2 separate regions of the Homo sapiens genome follow, and region 2 is linked to region 1. The links are contacts of gene promoters, found by promoter capture Hi-C in human tissues and cell types (Jung and others, 2019). All regions are on one chromosome and are shown on one strand. The core of a region is centred on a gene start or on the middle of the fragment in contact, and the rest is flanking DNA. Distances in the headings are between cores, read along the strand shown.

Region 1 (7,908 bases), core at 2,438-4,937:
GCCGCTGGGGCCAGCACGAGGCTGTCAGTGGGCTGTGGGCTGCAGGAAGACAGGGAGCGGCCCGAACAGCGCTGGAAGCGGGCGCGGGGCTGCAGGGAGGGAACGGGCCCCCGGCCTCCCCCGCTGCCCGGGCCCCGCACGCGGCCGCGCAGGTGGTCGCGGTAGTTCCTGGTGAGCAGCGTGTAGAGGAAGGGGTTGGCGCAGCTGTTGCCGTAGGTGAGGCAGGTGGTCAGGTAGTTGACGATGCGCGCCGTCCGCGGCGCCAGCGGGGCCTGGTGGTACTGGGCGAGCAGCTGCCACAGCCAGAAGGGCAGGAAGCAGGCCCAGAAGAGCAGCACGATGCCCAGCACCAGGCGCAGCGCGCGCGCCCCCGGCCGCCGGGCCCGCTTGAAGGAGGCGCGCTGCGAGCGGCGGTAGGCGCGGGCCAGGCGCGCGTAGAGCAGCCCGATGAGCAGCCCGGGCCCCGCGATGCTGGTGGCGAAGAGCAGCGTCAGGTAGGCGCGGTGGGCGCGCGGGCCCCAGGCGGGCAGGCACAGGCTCTTGGGACCCCGGCGCACCAGCCGCATGGCCAGCATCACGGGCAGCGTCAGCAGCAGCGCCAGCAGCCAGGTGCCCAGCGCCAGCAGCTTGCGGTAGCCCTTGGGGCGCTGCACGGTGTCCAGCGGCCGCAGCACCGCAGCGTAGCGCTCGCTGCTCATGACGGTCAGCGTGAAGATGCTGGCGTGCATGGTCAGGAAGTCCAGGCCGAAGAGCACGCGGCAGCCCACGTCCCCGAAGTGCCACTCCTTGGTGACGTAGGTGGCCACGATGAAGGGGATGCTGAGCAGGTACAGCAGGTCGGCCAGCGCCAGGTTGACCACGTAGACGTACATGGAGGCCACCGCACGCAGGGAGCGGCAGGTGACCACCAGCGTGTAGGCGTTGCCCACCACGCCCACCACGCCCATGGCCGACAGCAGAGTCCCAATGGTGCCCGTGGCCACCAGGTCCTCCAGGGAGCTGGGCTCGGTCGGGCTGGCCCAGGAGCTGTTGAGGGTTGCGTTGGGGCCGCCAGGCGGCTCCGGCACAGAGCTGCCAGTGGCGGCCAGCCCAGGGAAGCTGCTCGGGGACTCGGGGGTCAGCGCCATCTCTGACCCCTCACGACGGGCTCAGGGCTGGGTGGACACTCCCTGAGATGGGGCGGGGGCCCCTGTGGGCAACCAGCTCAGCCTGTGGGGAAAGAAGCAAATCAGGCAACACCTTCCGCTCCCAGGAGGCCACTGTGATGGCCTCGTTCCCACAGAGTCACGTGGGCTCCCCAGTGCCCTCCAACTCTCGGGACTCTCTGGAAGCCACCAGCTCTGCAGGAGGACTCAAGAGCCACCAGACGAGCTGCCCCAACCCCCCTCCCCGACCCCCGCATGCCCCAGCAGGACCCCTGCCCCCCCCTCACTGTAGGTCCCATGGCCTCTGGGATGAACTGGGCTTTTCTGAAAGCCGGAACACAGGAGGGCAGCCCCTGGGGCAGAGGTCGGCAGTGGACAGAACTGGGAGTCCTGGGCTCTGCCCATTGCGCCCCCCCAGGCCTCACTTTCTTGTCTGTGCACAGGTGGGGCCCACTTACTCCTGAGTCCTTTCTCGTATTTATTTGACTTGTACATTTAAAAAAATGTTTTCTTTAGATTGCAAAACTAGTAGCTACTGACTTTAAAAGTCCAAATAGAAGAACATGTAAGGAGAGGAAGGCCTCTGCAATCTCCATTTCTCATACAGGGAAACGAATTCAAGATGGATTGCAGGCCTAAGTGTGAAAGGTTAAATCAGTCAGTCGAGGTTCTGGAAGAAAACGGGAATACTGGCATAACCTTGGATGGGAAAATATTTCTTAAAAATGAACAAAAAATACTTTCAATAAAAGACTAAGCAAATGGGTTTCATTAAAATTAAGAACTTTACCAAGAGAGCGAAATCATAAGCCACAGGCTAGGAGATCATCAGAAAACATATATCAGGCCAGTTGCAGTGGCTCACGCCTGTAATCCCAGCACTTTAGGAGGCCTAGGCAAGTGGATCACCTGAGGTCAGGAGTTCGAAACCGGCCTGGCCAACATCTCGAAACCCCGTCTCTACTAAAAATACAAAAATTAGTCGGGCATGGTGGCACACGCCTGTAATCCCAGCTGCTCGGGAGGCTGAGGCAGGAGAATTGTTTGAACTCGGGAGGTGGAAGTTGCAGTGAGCCAAGATTGAGATTGTGCCACCGCACTCCAGCCTGGGCAACAAAGTGAGACTTTGTCTCAGAGAAAAAAAAAAAGAAGAAACATAGACAAAAAGCTGGTAAGAAAAATATAGGGAAGAACTGCAAATTAGTAAGGAAAAGACAAACAACCCATTTGAAAAAAAGAGACCAAAACCGTGACCGGGGACTTCCTGAAAAGGACACCCACGCAGCCAACAAGCAGGGAAATGCCAGTCAGGGCCACAGGAGCCCCTGCGTGCTGACAAGGATGAACGCGTGAAAAGGCAGATATCCTTGTCAACAGGCGTGGGGGCTGTGGAGGAGCTGGCCCTGCCGTTTCCTGTTGCTGGGAACCTGGACTGTGCCGCCGCTTTGGAAAGCCATTGGCACGATTTGCAGAGTTGACCGCCTATACCTTCTCACCCGGCAATTCTACTCTCAGGTTAGTACCTTAGATAAAGGGCTGCCAACGTTCAGAAAATGACAAGCGTGCGAAAGTTCACGGCAGCTTGACTCCTAAGAAGCTGGAAACAGCTCAAATGTCCCCAGTGGACGGGGCAGGCAAACTGTGACATGAAGCCAGTGAAGGAGTCGCCGCTGGGGTCAGCAGCCTGGATGAAACAGCGCGGTGGTGGGCTGAAGAAACAAGACACAGGAGGCTGCCTGATTCCACGAGCCACGCTGAATTTAGGCCGAACACTCATGGCTGCGCAGGGAGCAGTCTTGGCTGGGGTGGGGAGTTGTCAACAGGTGGGGGCGCTGGGGGCCTTCCAGGGCCTGGAAATGTGCCCTGTCCGCCCTTTCCCACCAGGCCGAGCAGCTCCCAGCTCCATCTGTCCAGGGGACCCTCACCCCCTTGCTGCCCCCACCCAGGGCATTTCCAGAGCCCTCACCCAGGGGACGGCGCAGAAGCCGAGGGTGCACCGGGCTCCCCAGTTGTGCGCGAGCCCGAGTCACGGGCAGGGGGACAGCGGCCGCCGGGCCGCTAGGATTGCTCCAGGGTCGCTAGGGGGGAAGGGGAGGGGCCGAAAGTTCCACGGCACGGGAGAAGCCGCCTCGCTGGACCCCGCTCCCCTCGCCCAGGGTGGGTTCCCACCGCGAAACCCCGGCCCAGCCCTGCGGAGGGCCCCGAAGGGCACAGACCCGGCAGTCCCCGCGCGCTCCCGGTCACCCACCGAGGACCCACCTGCCTCCGGTCACTGAGCGGCCAGACCTGCCCGCCGAGCCTGGGGTCGCGCGTGGGGGCAGCCGCTCGCGGCTCCAAACTCCTCGCGCAGCGGGGCCGCGGGGAACTTTCCGAGGCGCGCTCCCCTGTCCCAGCGCAGAGGGGGCGCGAGGGGCTCCGCGGTGGCCTCGGCTTCCAGAGCACACGGCAGGGGCGCCCGCCAGTCCCGCCACCAAAGCCGCGCCCCCCGCCCCGCGCCGGGTCTCTGCGCCGCCGCCACCTGCCCGCCGCCAGCTGGGAATGCGCCGCGCCCCGCGCCAGGGCCCGGTATTAAAATAACCCCAGCGGGCAGCAGGCGCGCGGAGGGGACGGCGCCGGGTGTCTAGGGGGCGGCGCTGACCGCGCGGCGCCGGGAAGACGCGGGGGTCGCGGGGCCGCAGCGGGGTCGGCGGAGGGTCCCAGGCGGGTCTCGCGTCTGCGTCTGCGGAGCGAAGCTGCCTCCAGCCCGGCTGCCCCAAGGCTGACCCCGCAGCCCCTCTTGGGTTCTCCGCCTCCAGCGTTCACCCCTGCGCCCCTCACGCCCGTGTTTGCAGGGCACGGAGCCTGGGATTCTCCGTGTCCACCAAGCCCTGGACCCGCCCGCGCGCAGGTGGGGGGCAGGAACACCCCTAAACCCCGAGAGGGTCATAGAAAGGAGGTAAGGGAGGGAGGGAGTCACCCGCCCAGGCGGGGACGGGCTCTTTGGGGGCCTTGACCCCGCCCCTGTTGCGGGTCTCCCACAGATGCTCTTAGAAGCCCACGCAGCCTCTCCAGGCCTCGGCAGGGACTCGTGGTGGCCACATCCACGGAAGTGACGCTGGGAGCTGCAGGGCCCCGCGGGGTAGGAGGAAGGACCCCACAGCCTCACCCTCGAGCCCCTGAGCTGGGTGCTGGCCCCCACTCGGTTTCACTTGCTGCTCGGAGGTAGGATGTGGGCCTTCACTCATGCTGAACCCCTGAAAGAAAAAGACACAGAACATTAATAAATTAGACTAGAGGAGAGCTGGAGAGCTGTGAACACGGGGTCTAAAGGGCCCCCAGCGAGGAGCTGGCCTCGCCCACTCCACTCCGCCCGGGGCTCATCTGCTGCCTGAGGCCGCGGACCGGCCCCTAAAGCTGAAGGGGTTCTGCTGGGGGAGAGGAGGTGGCCAAGTGTGAATGGCCGAGAGGCTCCTGCAATCAGCTGGATCCGGGGGAGCCCCAGATGCCCACCAGTCCCCTCCGTGGGACGTTTGCCACGTGCTGGGGAGGCGAGGCTGGGCTGGAGAGGGCGGGAAAAGTCCCTCTGGTCTCCGAGCGTCCGCTGGACGGAGCAAGGGTCACACAATAAGACAGTTCATTCTCTGTGAGCTGAAAACAGCCGAACTGAAACCAAATACAGCTGCAGCTTCCGACCCGAAAGGGGAGCAGCTCATCCTGCCTGTGCGCGGGAGGAAAGGGGGTGGAAGGCTGCCTCCGACGTGATGGTTCTGTGAGAGCTGATTACTAAGCTGGAGTCTAGGGGCTAGGGCTGGGGAAAAGCACTCAGGACCCAGAATGCCTGCTCCAAGAATTAAATTTCCCGCAAGCCAGCTGCCGAAACGATCTGCTGTCACCTCAGCCAGTTCACCGAGTAGCTGCTGAAACGACCTGCCCTGACACGAACACCGGGTTTTTTATTTTTTATTTTATTTTTTTATTATTTATTTATTTATTTTTTTGAGATGGGGTCTCACTCTTTCACCCGGGCTGGAGTGCAGTGGTGCGATCTCGGCTCACTGCAACCTCGGCTCACTGCAACCTCCACCTCCCAGGCTCAAGCAATTCTCCTGCCTCAGCCTCCCAAGTAGCTGGGATTACAGGCACCCGCCACCACACCCAGCTAATTTTTGTGTTTGTAGTAGACGGGGTTTCATCATGTTGGCCGGGTAGGTCTCGAACTCCTGAGCTCAGGTGATCTGCCCACCTCAGCCTCCCAAAGTGCTAGGATTACAGGCGTGAGCCACCGTGCCTGGCCTCCAGTGCTGGTTTTACCACTGAGGCCACTCGCCTGAGCTTGCCAGCTCCCCCGAACTACCAGTGCCAACGGGCTTTCTTTCAAAGCAATAGATAACGTTTCTCTTTCCAAAAGAATCCCGATTTTCTTTTGTTCTTGAACATACCGAATTGAAATTCTTCCTAAAATTAAACATTAAACTTAAAGATTTGTCTGTATATTTGGACTTTGACAGTTGCTATGTATAAAATGCTTCAGCAAGGAAATAATAATCTGATTATTGTTTCCTTGCTGCTTCATATCTTATGTGATCCATAATTGATGGGGGAAAAATAGCCGATAGAAGCAGGTCCATATGTGACACAAGTATTGGAATTAGCAGACCAGGAGTTTCTGTTTTACAAAAACTGTTACAAATATAGTAAAGCAAGCAGAAGAACCTGGGCAACATGCATGAAAAGATGGAAATTTTCACCAGAAAATGGGAATGTATTTCTTTCTTTATTTGAGACAGGGTCTCGCTCTAAGGTCTAGCCTAGGCTCGCCCAGGCTGGAGTGCAGGGGTGTGATCATGGCTCACCGCAGCTTTCTTTGACTTCCTACACTCAAGCAATTCTCCTACCTCCCGAGTAGCTGGGACTACAGACATGCACCGCTACACTACACTTGGCTAATTTTTGTATTTTTTGTAGAGACAAGTTTCACCATGTTGCCCAGCCACTACGCCCAACCCCATTTGACTCTTTTATTAGAAATTCCCAGGCTGGGCACTGTGGCTAACACCTGTAATCCCAGCACTTTTTTTTTTTTTTTTTTTTTTGAGATGGAGTCTCACTCTGTCGCCCAGGCTGGAGTGCAGTGGCGTGATCTTGACTCACTGCAACCTCCGCCTCCCAGGTTCAAGCAATTCTCTGCCTCAGCCTCCCGAGTGACTGGGATTACAGGTGCCCACCACCACACCCAACTAATTTTTGTATTTTTTTTTTTTTTTTTGAGACAGAGTCTCGCTGGTCGCCCAGGCTGGAGTGCAGTGGCGCAATCTCGGCTCACTGCAAGCTCTGCCTCCCGGGTTCATGCCATTCTCCTGCCTCAGCCTCCCGAGTAGCTGGGACTACAGGTGCCCACCACCGTGCCTGGCTAATTTTTTGTATTTTTAGTAGAGACGGGGTTTCACTGTGTTAGCCAGGATGGTCTCGATCTCCTGACCTCGTGATCCGCCCGCCTCGGCCTCCCAAAGTGCTGGGATTACAGGTGCCCACCACCGCTCTCAGCCTAATTTTTGTATTTTTAGTAGAGATGGGCTTTCACTATCTTGGCCAGGCTGGTCTTGAACTCCTGACCTCGTGATCTGCCCACCTCGGCCTCCCAAAGTGCTAGGATTACAGGCATGAGCCACCGCACCCGGCCAATCCCAGTACTTTTGAAAACTGAGGCAGGATGATCACTCGAGTCTAGAAGTTTGAGACCAGCCTGGGCACATAATGAGACCCTCCATTTCTATTTCTAAAAAAATTTTTTAAAGGGTGAAGGAAATAATGTATACAGTGGTCCATTTCCAAGACAGTGTGCCTTGAATCGGCTTAGGTCAGCAAACTACAGAAGAACAGGATATACTAGGCCCCAGCTTGGATAGTGGATGCCTGCTTGTCGGCCTCATCCACTCCCTTTTAACCCCCTCTTAGTTGCCCTCACCCAAATCAAAGAAGTTTAAGATGAAATTTTACTAGCCTGCAAAATAGCTGGTTTGATCTATTCTTATCAGCCTGCCCAGCTACTTAGGTCATAAGTCAAATACTTAAAGAGCCCCTGAGCTAACTAGGATTGCAATGCATTGTGGGCTGCAACAAAATGCAGCAGGACAACCCTGAAGAAAACACCTACAGCACCTGCCCAACAACCAATAGGCGACATCCGGGAAGATTGTGACCCGAGAGTACTCAGCCTATGAGGAACCTGGGGAGGGACCTGCACCCTGCAGCCCCTGCCCAACAACCAATAGGCGACATGCAGGAAGACTGTGATCCCCTAGTACTCAGCCTATGAGGAAGCTGGGGAGGGACCTGTGCCCTACAGCCCCTGCCCAACAACCAATAGGCGACATGCGGGAAGACTGTGACCCCAGAGTACTCAGCCTATGAGGAACCGGGGGAGGGATCTGTGCACTAGGGGATAAATTGCTTGTTGAAACTGCTGGGTGTGCCTGCCCACCAGACACCCGATCTTGCCGTCATTAAAAGCCTCGCTTTCGCTGTTCTCCAGGTCCCTGAGTCAGTTCTTTGGATTTGGACGGATGAGTTTCTTTCTCACAAGGGTCAAATGGACATTTTATAACTTTTAAAAGTACAGTATCTAAAATTCAGAAATCACAGCAGAAGAAAGAATCAGTTAACTTAAAGGTAGGTCAATAGAAATTATCCAGACACAGAAAGAGAAAAGAATGAAAAACAGAAAAGCCTGTGGAACCACACCATCAAATGATCTGACGTACATGTCACTGGAGTCCCCAGATCA
Region 2 (7,908 bases), core at 2,385-4,884, 270 kb before region 1:
TGTAAAGGATAATTGCCAAGAATACAGATGAGGGCAAGCACGGAACAAGGTGTGGGGGGACAGGCTATGGAGTTTCCAAGCCCTCCCTCGGCTGCCACCCTCCAGAACCTTCCATGTGTTCAGCTGACCTCTTGGATTTTTATGTTTTTTATTTTTTTACTTCAAAATTCATTTTTCTTTGATTTTTTTTTTCTCTTTTTTCCCACATGTGTTACAGAAAATACCTCTTGGAGATATATACATATCTATCTCTGACGTTGTCTCGCTCTGTTGCCCAGGCTGGAGTGCAGTGGTGTGATCTCGGCTCACTGCAAGCTCCGCCTCCCGGGTTCAGGCCTTTCTCCTGCCTCAGCCTCCCGAGTAGCTGGGATTGCAGGCACCTGCCACCACGCCTGGCTAATTTTTTTTGTATGTTTGGTAGAGACGGTGTTTCACTGTGTTAGCCAGGATGGTCTTGATCTCCTGACCTCGTGATCCGCCCACCTTGTCCTCCCAAAGTGCTGGGATTACAGGCATGAGCCACCGCACCCCGGCCACCTCTTGGATTTTTAAGGAAGCTTCATAGTATCTGCATTGCTTCTCCTAGTGTGCAGGGTGGGAGCTTCTCTATGGAGGTTCTTCAGACCCACAATCAGGTGGAGAAGATTTGAGTTCTGCCTTAGCAGGTGAAAGGGCAGGAGAGAGATTCTGGTTCCTGAGGGCCTAACACACCCAATATTATAACAAAAGATTGTAACAAGGTCTGGGAGTTATGAGCCAGGAACCGTGGGTGAAAACCTGTATGTGTCTCTCTCATAACACCACAACAGCATATTAACAACTGCTTCCTAATTAATGAAGTGTTTACAGTAAATTCAACATTTCTTATAAAAATGAGTTTGACGGCCCGCACGGTGGCTCACGCCTGTAATCCCAGCACTTTGGGAGGCTGAGGCGAGCAGATTGCCTGAGCTCAGGAGTTCGAGACCAGCCTGGGCAACACGGTGAAACCCCATCTCTACTACAAATACAAAAAGTTAGCCAGGCGTGGTGGCGCATACCTGTAATTCAAATTACTGGGGAGGTTGAGGCACGAGAATCACTTAAACCCGGGAGGCCGAGGTTGCAGTGAGCCGAGATTGCGCCACTGCACTCCATCCTGGGCGACAGAGCAAGACTCCGTCTCAAAAAAAAAAAAAACCCAGACAAGAAACATCTAAAACTTCTAAATTCCAGAAAAGTATACCATTGTCATGGTTTAGCTCATCACACACATATACCCGGTCTTGTGCGTCTGCCAGCTCGGCTGTGTCTGGGGCAGGCTGTCCCTGAGCTTAGCATGCAGTGAGTTCTCACATGTGCATGTGTGGTGTGCTCCCGTTTCCAGCTTATGTGAGTAGATAGGCCCTAATGTGAAATGGATACAGTAGGGCCACACTGTCTTTTTGATGGCACATTTAAACAGTTTGGCTCTGCACTTACAGACTCATCTGCTGCTCTGCGTCTGGCAGCTTACAGTTTAACAATGAAGAGCAGGCCAGGCCTCTAATCCCAGCACTTTGGGAGGCCAAGGTGGGCAGATCACGAGGTCAGGAGATCGAAACCATCCTGGCCGGCACAGTGAAACCCCATCTCTACTAAAAATACAAAAATTAGCTGGACCTGGTGGTGCGTGCCTTTAATCCCAGCTACTCGGGAGGCTGAGGCAGGAGAATTGCTTGAACCAGGGAGTCGGAGGTTGCAGTGAGCCGAGATCTCGCCACTGCACTGCAGCCTGATGGCAGAGTGAGACTCTGTCTTAAAAAAAAAAAAAAAAGAAAAAAATCCCAGTGAAGAGCAGCACCAGACTTGCCCTTGTTCCTTTTTAATTGTAGCAGTTTGCTTTCCTGAGTGGTGGGGAAGGAAGCCTGCATGACAGTGTGTCCTGGATCTGGGCTTGTGGCATGGTTCTCTCCAGGGTGACTGTGCATTGAGTAAGGAGACTGTGGGCTCTGAGCAGGCTGCTGTTTCCAGATACGCCTTCTGCCACTTGGCAGGAACGGGAAGCTGGTAGTTCAGGGAAGCCTTCTTGGGGATCCCTGCTCCTTCAGTCTTGGGGGGCAGTGTTGTCCAACCCTGCTCCCCGACATAGGTCCTGCATCCATTGTACACCCAGGTTTGTTCTTTCCACACACACAGCCCAGCCACCCTCCCGACCCACACACAGCCCAGCAGCCCACCTGACCCGACACACACACAGCCCAGCAGCCCACCTGACCCGACACACACACAACCCAGCAGCCCTCCCGACCCACACACAGCTCGGCAGCCCACCTGACCCGACACACAGCCCGGCAGCCCTCCCGACCTGACACACACACAGCCCAGCAGCCCTCCCGACCCCACACACACACAGCCCAGCAGCCCGCCCCACCTACACACAGCCCAGCAGCCTACCTGACCTGACACACAGCCTGGCAGCCCTCTCGACCTGACACAGCCCAGCAGCCCGCCAGACCCGACACACACACAGCCCGGCAGCCTCAGCACATCTAGCTTCACAACAGGTCCTGCAGGCTTCGTGCTGTGTGCTCACCCAGCGTGCCAGGTGAAGGTGCTAGAGAAATGGGAGGCCTGCAATGTGTAGGTAGCAGGTGGTTCCTGCGGGTGGGGAGGACACAGAGGTGGTGGGTAGCTTTGGGAAGGAGGTGGAAAGGGGAAGTTTGGTAACCTGGTGGTAGAAGGTTAAATTGGTAGAGCCTTGTGGAGTAATTTGGCAAGCTGTGTTCATTATAGATGTACTGTTTGGTGCCTGTATACCAATATTACTTGCAACGCTGTTTCCAAGAGTGGAAAATTGGAGAACCCGAATGACTTTCATGAAAGGGGTGATTACTGTGGTTGTGGCACATCCTCAAAATGGTGCTTCATGCGGTAAGAATGCCGAGACCAATCTGAATCCTCATTTGGAGAGATGGCCATGGCATTGTTAAAGGAAAAAGAAAGTAGAGAATAGCATAGATGGTGTTATAGGAACAAAATATCTATGCACAAAGTTTAGAACATACGTGGCCAGGCAGAGTGGCTCATGCCTGTAATCCCAGCACTTTAGGAGGCCGAGGCAGGTGGATCACGAGGTCAGGAGATCGAGACCATCCTGGCCAACATGGTGAAACCCCATCTCTACTAAAAATAAAAAAATTAGCCGGGCATGGTGGTGGGTGCCTGTAGTCCCAGCTACTTGGAAGGCTGAGGCAGGAGAATCACTTGAACCCAGGAGGCGGAGGTTACAGTGAGCCGAGATCGTGCCACTGCACTCCAGCCTGGTGACAGAGCGAGACTCTGTCTCAAAAAAAGTACATAAATGATGTTGTTTCACAGTGTTTTCTACTTTATGCTTTTCTGTGTTGTTTTATAGAAATGATGCATAATTTTTATAATGGGAAATAAGGTTTTCTTTAAAAATAAAACTCCACAGAAATAGGAACGAGAAACAGGGACTGCACGACATGACAGAGGCAAAAATAAAAAGGTTATTAGCCTCAAGTGCTAGAATGGTTGATTTTCACTCATTTGTATAAAGTGATTCATTTTTCAAGCATCTCTTAGTGGAATAGAAGTTATGCCAGTATTCAGACATCCCCTTTCCCCATTTTCTTTTATTAGTTTCTTGTGTTTTGCAGCAGGCTCTGTTGGGAGAGTCTGGGCCTGTCAAGATGTGGTGTAATTATATATTTTGGTTTTCACCCTGGCCGGTAACTCCCACAGACCTGGTTAGTCTTTTTGTTACAATATTGGCCCTCAGGGGAGGCCTCTGACCTTCTCCTACCCCCCTTTCACCCTAACGTGTCCTGTCTCCCCACCACCACCCCACCTTCCTTCCTTTCTTTTCTTTTTTCTTTCTTTCTTTCCTCCTCCCCCCTCCCCTCCCCTCCCCTCCCCTCCCCTCCCCTCCCCTCCTCTCCCCTCCCCTCCCTTTCCCTCCCCTCCCTTTCCCTCGCCTCCCCTCTTCTTTGACAGAATCTCTCCCAGGCTGGAGTGCAGTGGCTCCATCTTGGCTCACTGCAACCTCCACCTCATGGGTTCAAGCGATTCTCGTGCCTCAGCCTTCCAAGTAGCTGGGATTACAGGCACATGCCACCACACCTGGCTACGTTTTTTTGTTTGTTTTGTATTTTTAGTAGAGATGGGGTTTCACCACGTTGACCAGGCTGGTCTCGAACTCTTGACTTCAAGTTATTTGTCTGCCTCGGCCTCCCAGAGTGCTGGGATTACAGGCATTAACCACCACACCCCCACCCTTTCTAATTGTGGGTCTCAGGACCCTCCCCAGAGAAGGCCGTACCCTCTGCCCCTGGGAAAGGAATGCTGATATCATGAAGCTTCCATAAAATCCCAAGGAGACGGGGTTCAGAGAGCTTCACGGAAGCTTTGTGTCCTTCCCCTAATACCTTGCCCTATGCATCTCTTCATCTGTATCCTTTGTAATATTCTTTGTTATAAACTGGTAAACATAAGGAAGTGTTTCCCTGAGTTCGGTGAGCCGTGCCAGCAAATTGAACCCAAAGAAGGGGTCACGGGAACCCCAACTTGAAGCTGGTCAGTCAGAAGTTTTGAAGGTTCTAACTTGTGACTGGTGTGTGGTGCAGTCGGTCTTGGGGACTGAGCCTTCAACCTGTGGGATCTAATACTCTCTCCAGGTAGATGGTGTCAGAACTGAGTTAGAGGAAGACCAGCTGGGGTTTGCTGTGCGGTTTCTGCTTTAGTCACAGAAGTCTTCTGTGTTGGTGATTGTGTGAGAATAGAGACCATGATTAGAGGAGAGGGTTTTTCTCTGTACCACAAGGACTGGGGTGTACCTCAAGTTTTCCTCAGCTGATGTTTAGTAGGAGCCTGTTTTGTGTCCTACGCAACCTATTGCTGCAATTTTAGTTGCTGTTACAGACAAGTCCGACCGCCAGGGACCCTTAGAGATGTAGACGCTGACATCCTGGGCAGGCTTGGGCATTTCTTCTTTTTGTGGGTATAAAATGTTCCAGGAATAAATAAATGCTCAGTGCTGTGAAGTAAAACCAGCACTCAGGCAAAAGTTTAATTCTCTCAGTAAGGCAATTTACTTCTGCAGAAGGGTGCCCCTTGCATCAGTCAAGATGGCAAGAGCACAGAGAACAAAGGAGACCGGGGGTTTTTATCCTGAACGCAGTCCCTATCTCTGTGTCACTCCCCTATGGGCTGGGGTCGGACTGCACAATCTGAGCTGACCCAATAGGCTACTTGTACATATTTTTCTAAATATAGAAGGGGAGGGGGATGTGAGGTACAGAGGTGGAGCGTGTGAGACGTGCAGTTTCAGGGGAACAATGTGTACAGGTAACCAAGGGAACAGGTGTGAGTTATTGATTAGAGTTGACGGGAAGCGGGTAGGCTGTTTACAGTAACTAGGGGCAAGGAAGAACAAGAAAGTCGAGTTCGAGAACAAAGGATAAGGAAGTTAACAGGCTAAATAAACCCTTTGAAGAGAAACTCAGAAAGATTTATTGTATCTTACATTTTTCTGTAACAACGAATATCCTTTGTAATATTTCAGTACCAGCCCTTGGGATCTGGAACATAGAAAGCTCTGAATGTAACCCTGGTCTTTCTGTGGGGAGACCCTTTCCCCCTCTTCAGCTGCAGGAGGTGGGGGTCAGGTATTATGGGAGAATCTCTTTGGCGGGGTTTAGAAGTCCTCTCTAATTCCTGAAGTTTGGCTCTTACCTTTGATTACTTCTCATTCCAGGAAAGGCCTTAACTCTCCTTCTCTGCCTCTTCACTTGATTCTGAAAAATCTGTTTTTCTTTTTTTTCTTTCCATTTTTAAAACCCAGAGACCGCATAGCTAACTGTGCCTGTGACTGACTGTGTTTGTCTTCTTTTTTTTTTTTTTTTTTTGAGACGGAGTCTTGCTCTGTCACCCAGGCTGGAGTGCAGTGGCGTGATCTCGGCTCACTGCAACCTCCACCTGCCGGGTTCAAGTGATTCTCCTGCCTCAGCCTCCCGAGTAGCTGGGACTACACAGCTGGCTGATTTTTGTATTTTTATTTTTTATTTATGTATTTATTTGAGAGACGAAGTTTCACTCTTGTTGCCCAGGCTAGAGTGCAGTGACGCGATCTCGGCTCACCGCACCCTCTGCCTCCCGGGTTCAAGTGATTCTCCTGCCCCAACTTCTCGAGTAGCTGGGATTATAGGCATGCGCCACCACACCTGGCAAGTTTTGTATTTTTAGTAGAGACGGGGGTTTTCCATGTTGGTCGCGCTGGTCTTGAACTCCCGACCTGAGGGATCCACCTGCCTCGGCCTGGCCTCCCAGAGTGCTGAGATTATAGGTGTCAGCCCCTGCACCCAGCCAACATTTCTTTACTTAACCATTAGCTAGAATCACATCTTGCTAAGGGAATGACTTGTTGCTTTTAGAACTTGAAAAGACGGCTGCGCACAGTGGCTAATGCCTGTAATCCCAGCACTTTGGGAGGCCGAGGTGGGTGGATCTCCTGAGGTCAGGAGTTCGAGACCAGCCTGGCCAACATGGTGAAACGCCGTCTCTACTAAAAATACAAAAATTAGCTGGGTGTGATGGGCGCCTGTAATCCCAGCTACTTGGGAGGCTGAGGCAGGAGAATCACTTGAACCCAGGAGGTGGAGGTTGCAGTGAGCCAAGATCGCACCACTGCACTCCATCCTGGGCGACAAGAGCAAAACTCCATCTCAAAAAAAAAAAAAAAACCTGAAAAGACTTATGATATAATCAAGCATTAATAACTTTATTAATAAGCCTAAGATCATGTAGTTTATAAAAGGGCTAAACATTGTCTCTCGGTTAAATAGTGTTTGAAGAGTACATTAGTGACCTTGACATAATTCTCAGGTCACTCAGATGTGTTTCTAAAACTTACTGAACCTACATTGAGGAAATAGTTACACTTCTGACACCTGGGGCAAAGAAGGTCTTCAGTGGCAGCATTTTTTAAAAAAAAAATTATGGTAAAAAATTATGTAAAATAAAATTTACCATCTTAACCATTTTTAAGCGCATAGATCAGTAATGTTGAATATATTCACATTGTTGTTAAACGGACCTCTAGAATTTCATCTTGGGAAGCCAAAGTCTACATCCATCAATTCTGCCTCCCCTGTCTCCTAGTAACCACCGTGCTACTTTTCTGTCTCCATGAACTTGACTGCTGTAGGGACTTCCCGTGAATGCCATCATATATGCCTGGCTTATTTCACTTAGTGTAGTGTTCTCTAGGTTGATCTCTGTTGCAGCCTGGGTCAGAACTTCAGGCCGGGTACCGCAGCTCACCCCTGTAATCCCAGTGTTTTCAGAGTCTGAGGCAGGAGGATTGCTTGAGGCCAGGAGTTTGAGACCAGTCTGGGCAACATAGTGAGACCTTATCTTGACAAAATCATAAATGAGAAATATTGTTTCTGTTTAAGGCTGAATAATAAATCACTGCACGTATGGAGCACGTGCTGTTTGTTCATTTCTCCATCTGTGGACACTCGGGTCCTTCTGCATCTTTGCTATTGTGAATGATGCTGCTACAAGCGTGGGTGTGCGGGTATCTCTTCCAGACCCTGCCTTGAGTTCTTTTGCTTGTATGACTAGAAGTGGGATTGCTGGATCATATGGTAACTTTGTTTTTTTCTTTTTTTTTGAGACAGAGTCTCGCCCTGTCGCCCAGGCTGGATGGAGTGCACTGGCGAGATCTCGGCTCACTGCAGCCTCCGCCTCCCGGGTTCAAGCAGTTCTCCTGCCTCAGCCTCCCGAGTAGCTGGGATTACAGATGTGCACTGCCGCTCCTGGCTAATTTTTGTATTTTTAGTAGAGACAGGGTTTCACCATGTTGGCCAGGATGGTCTTGATCGCCCGACCTCATGATTCGCCTGCCTCGGCCTCCCAAGGTGT

The links. The method cuts DNA at HindIII sites, captures the fragments that hold promoters and counts their contacts. A contact is called where the count stands out against the background at its distance.
Region 2: a fragment that was not itself captured here is called in contact with the fragment with the promoter of UTS2R in region 1 in 5 of the 25 tissues and cell types used here (IMR-90 fibroblasts, dorsolateral prefrontal cortex, liver and 2 more).

Annotation. Positions count from the first base shown.
Region 1 is chr17:82,367,544-82,375,451 of GRCh38, reverse strand. It overlaps UTS2R (urotensin 2 receptor), which reads right to left and starts at 3,687. Exons shown (of 3, transcript NM_018949.3): 1 at 3,405-3,687; 2 at 2,669-2,854; 3 at 1-1,209. The coding sequence starts at 1,127. The HindIII fragment of the contact is 34,629 bases long and covers 1-7,908 here.
Region 2 is chr17:82,634,241-82,642,148 of GRCh38, reverse strand. All of the region lies in intron 2 of WDR45B (WD repeat domain 45B), which reads left to right. Among named protein-coding and RNA genes, the nearest start is that of WDR45B, 10 kb to the left of the region's middle. The HindIII fragment of the contact is 7,436 bases long and covers 1-7,352 here.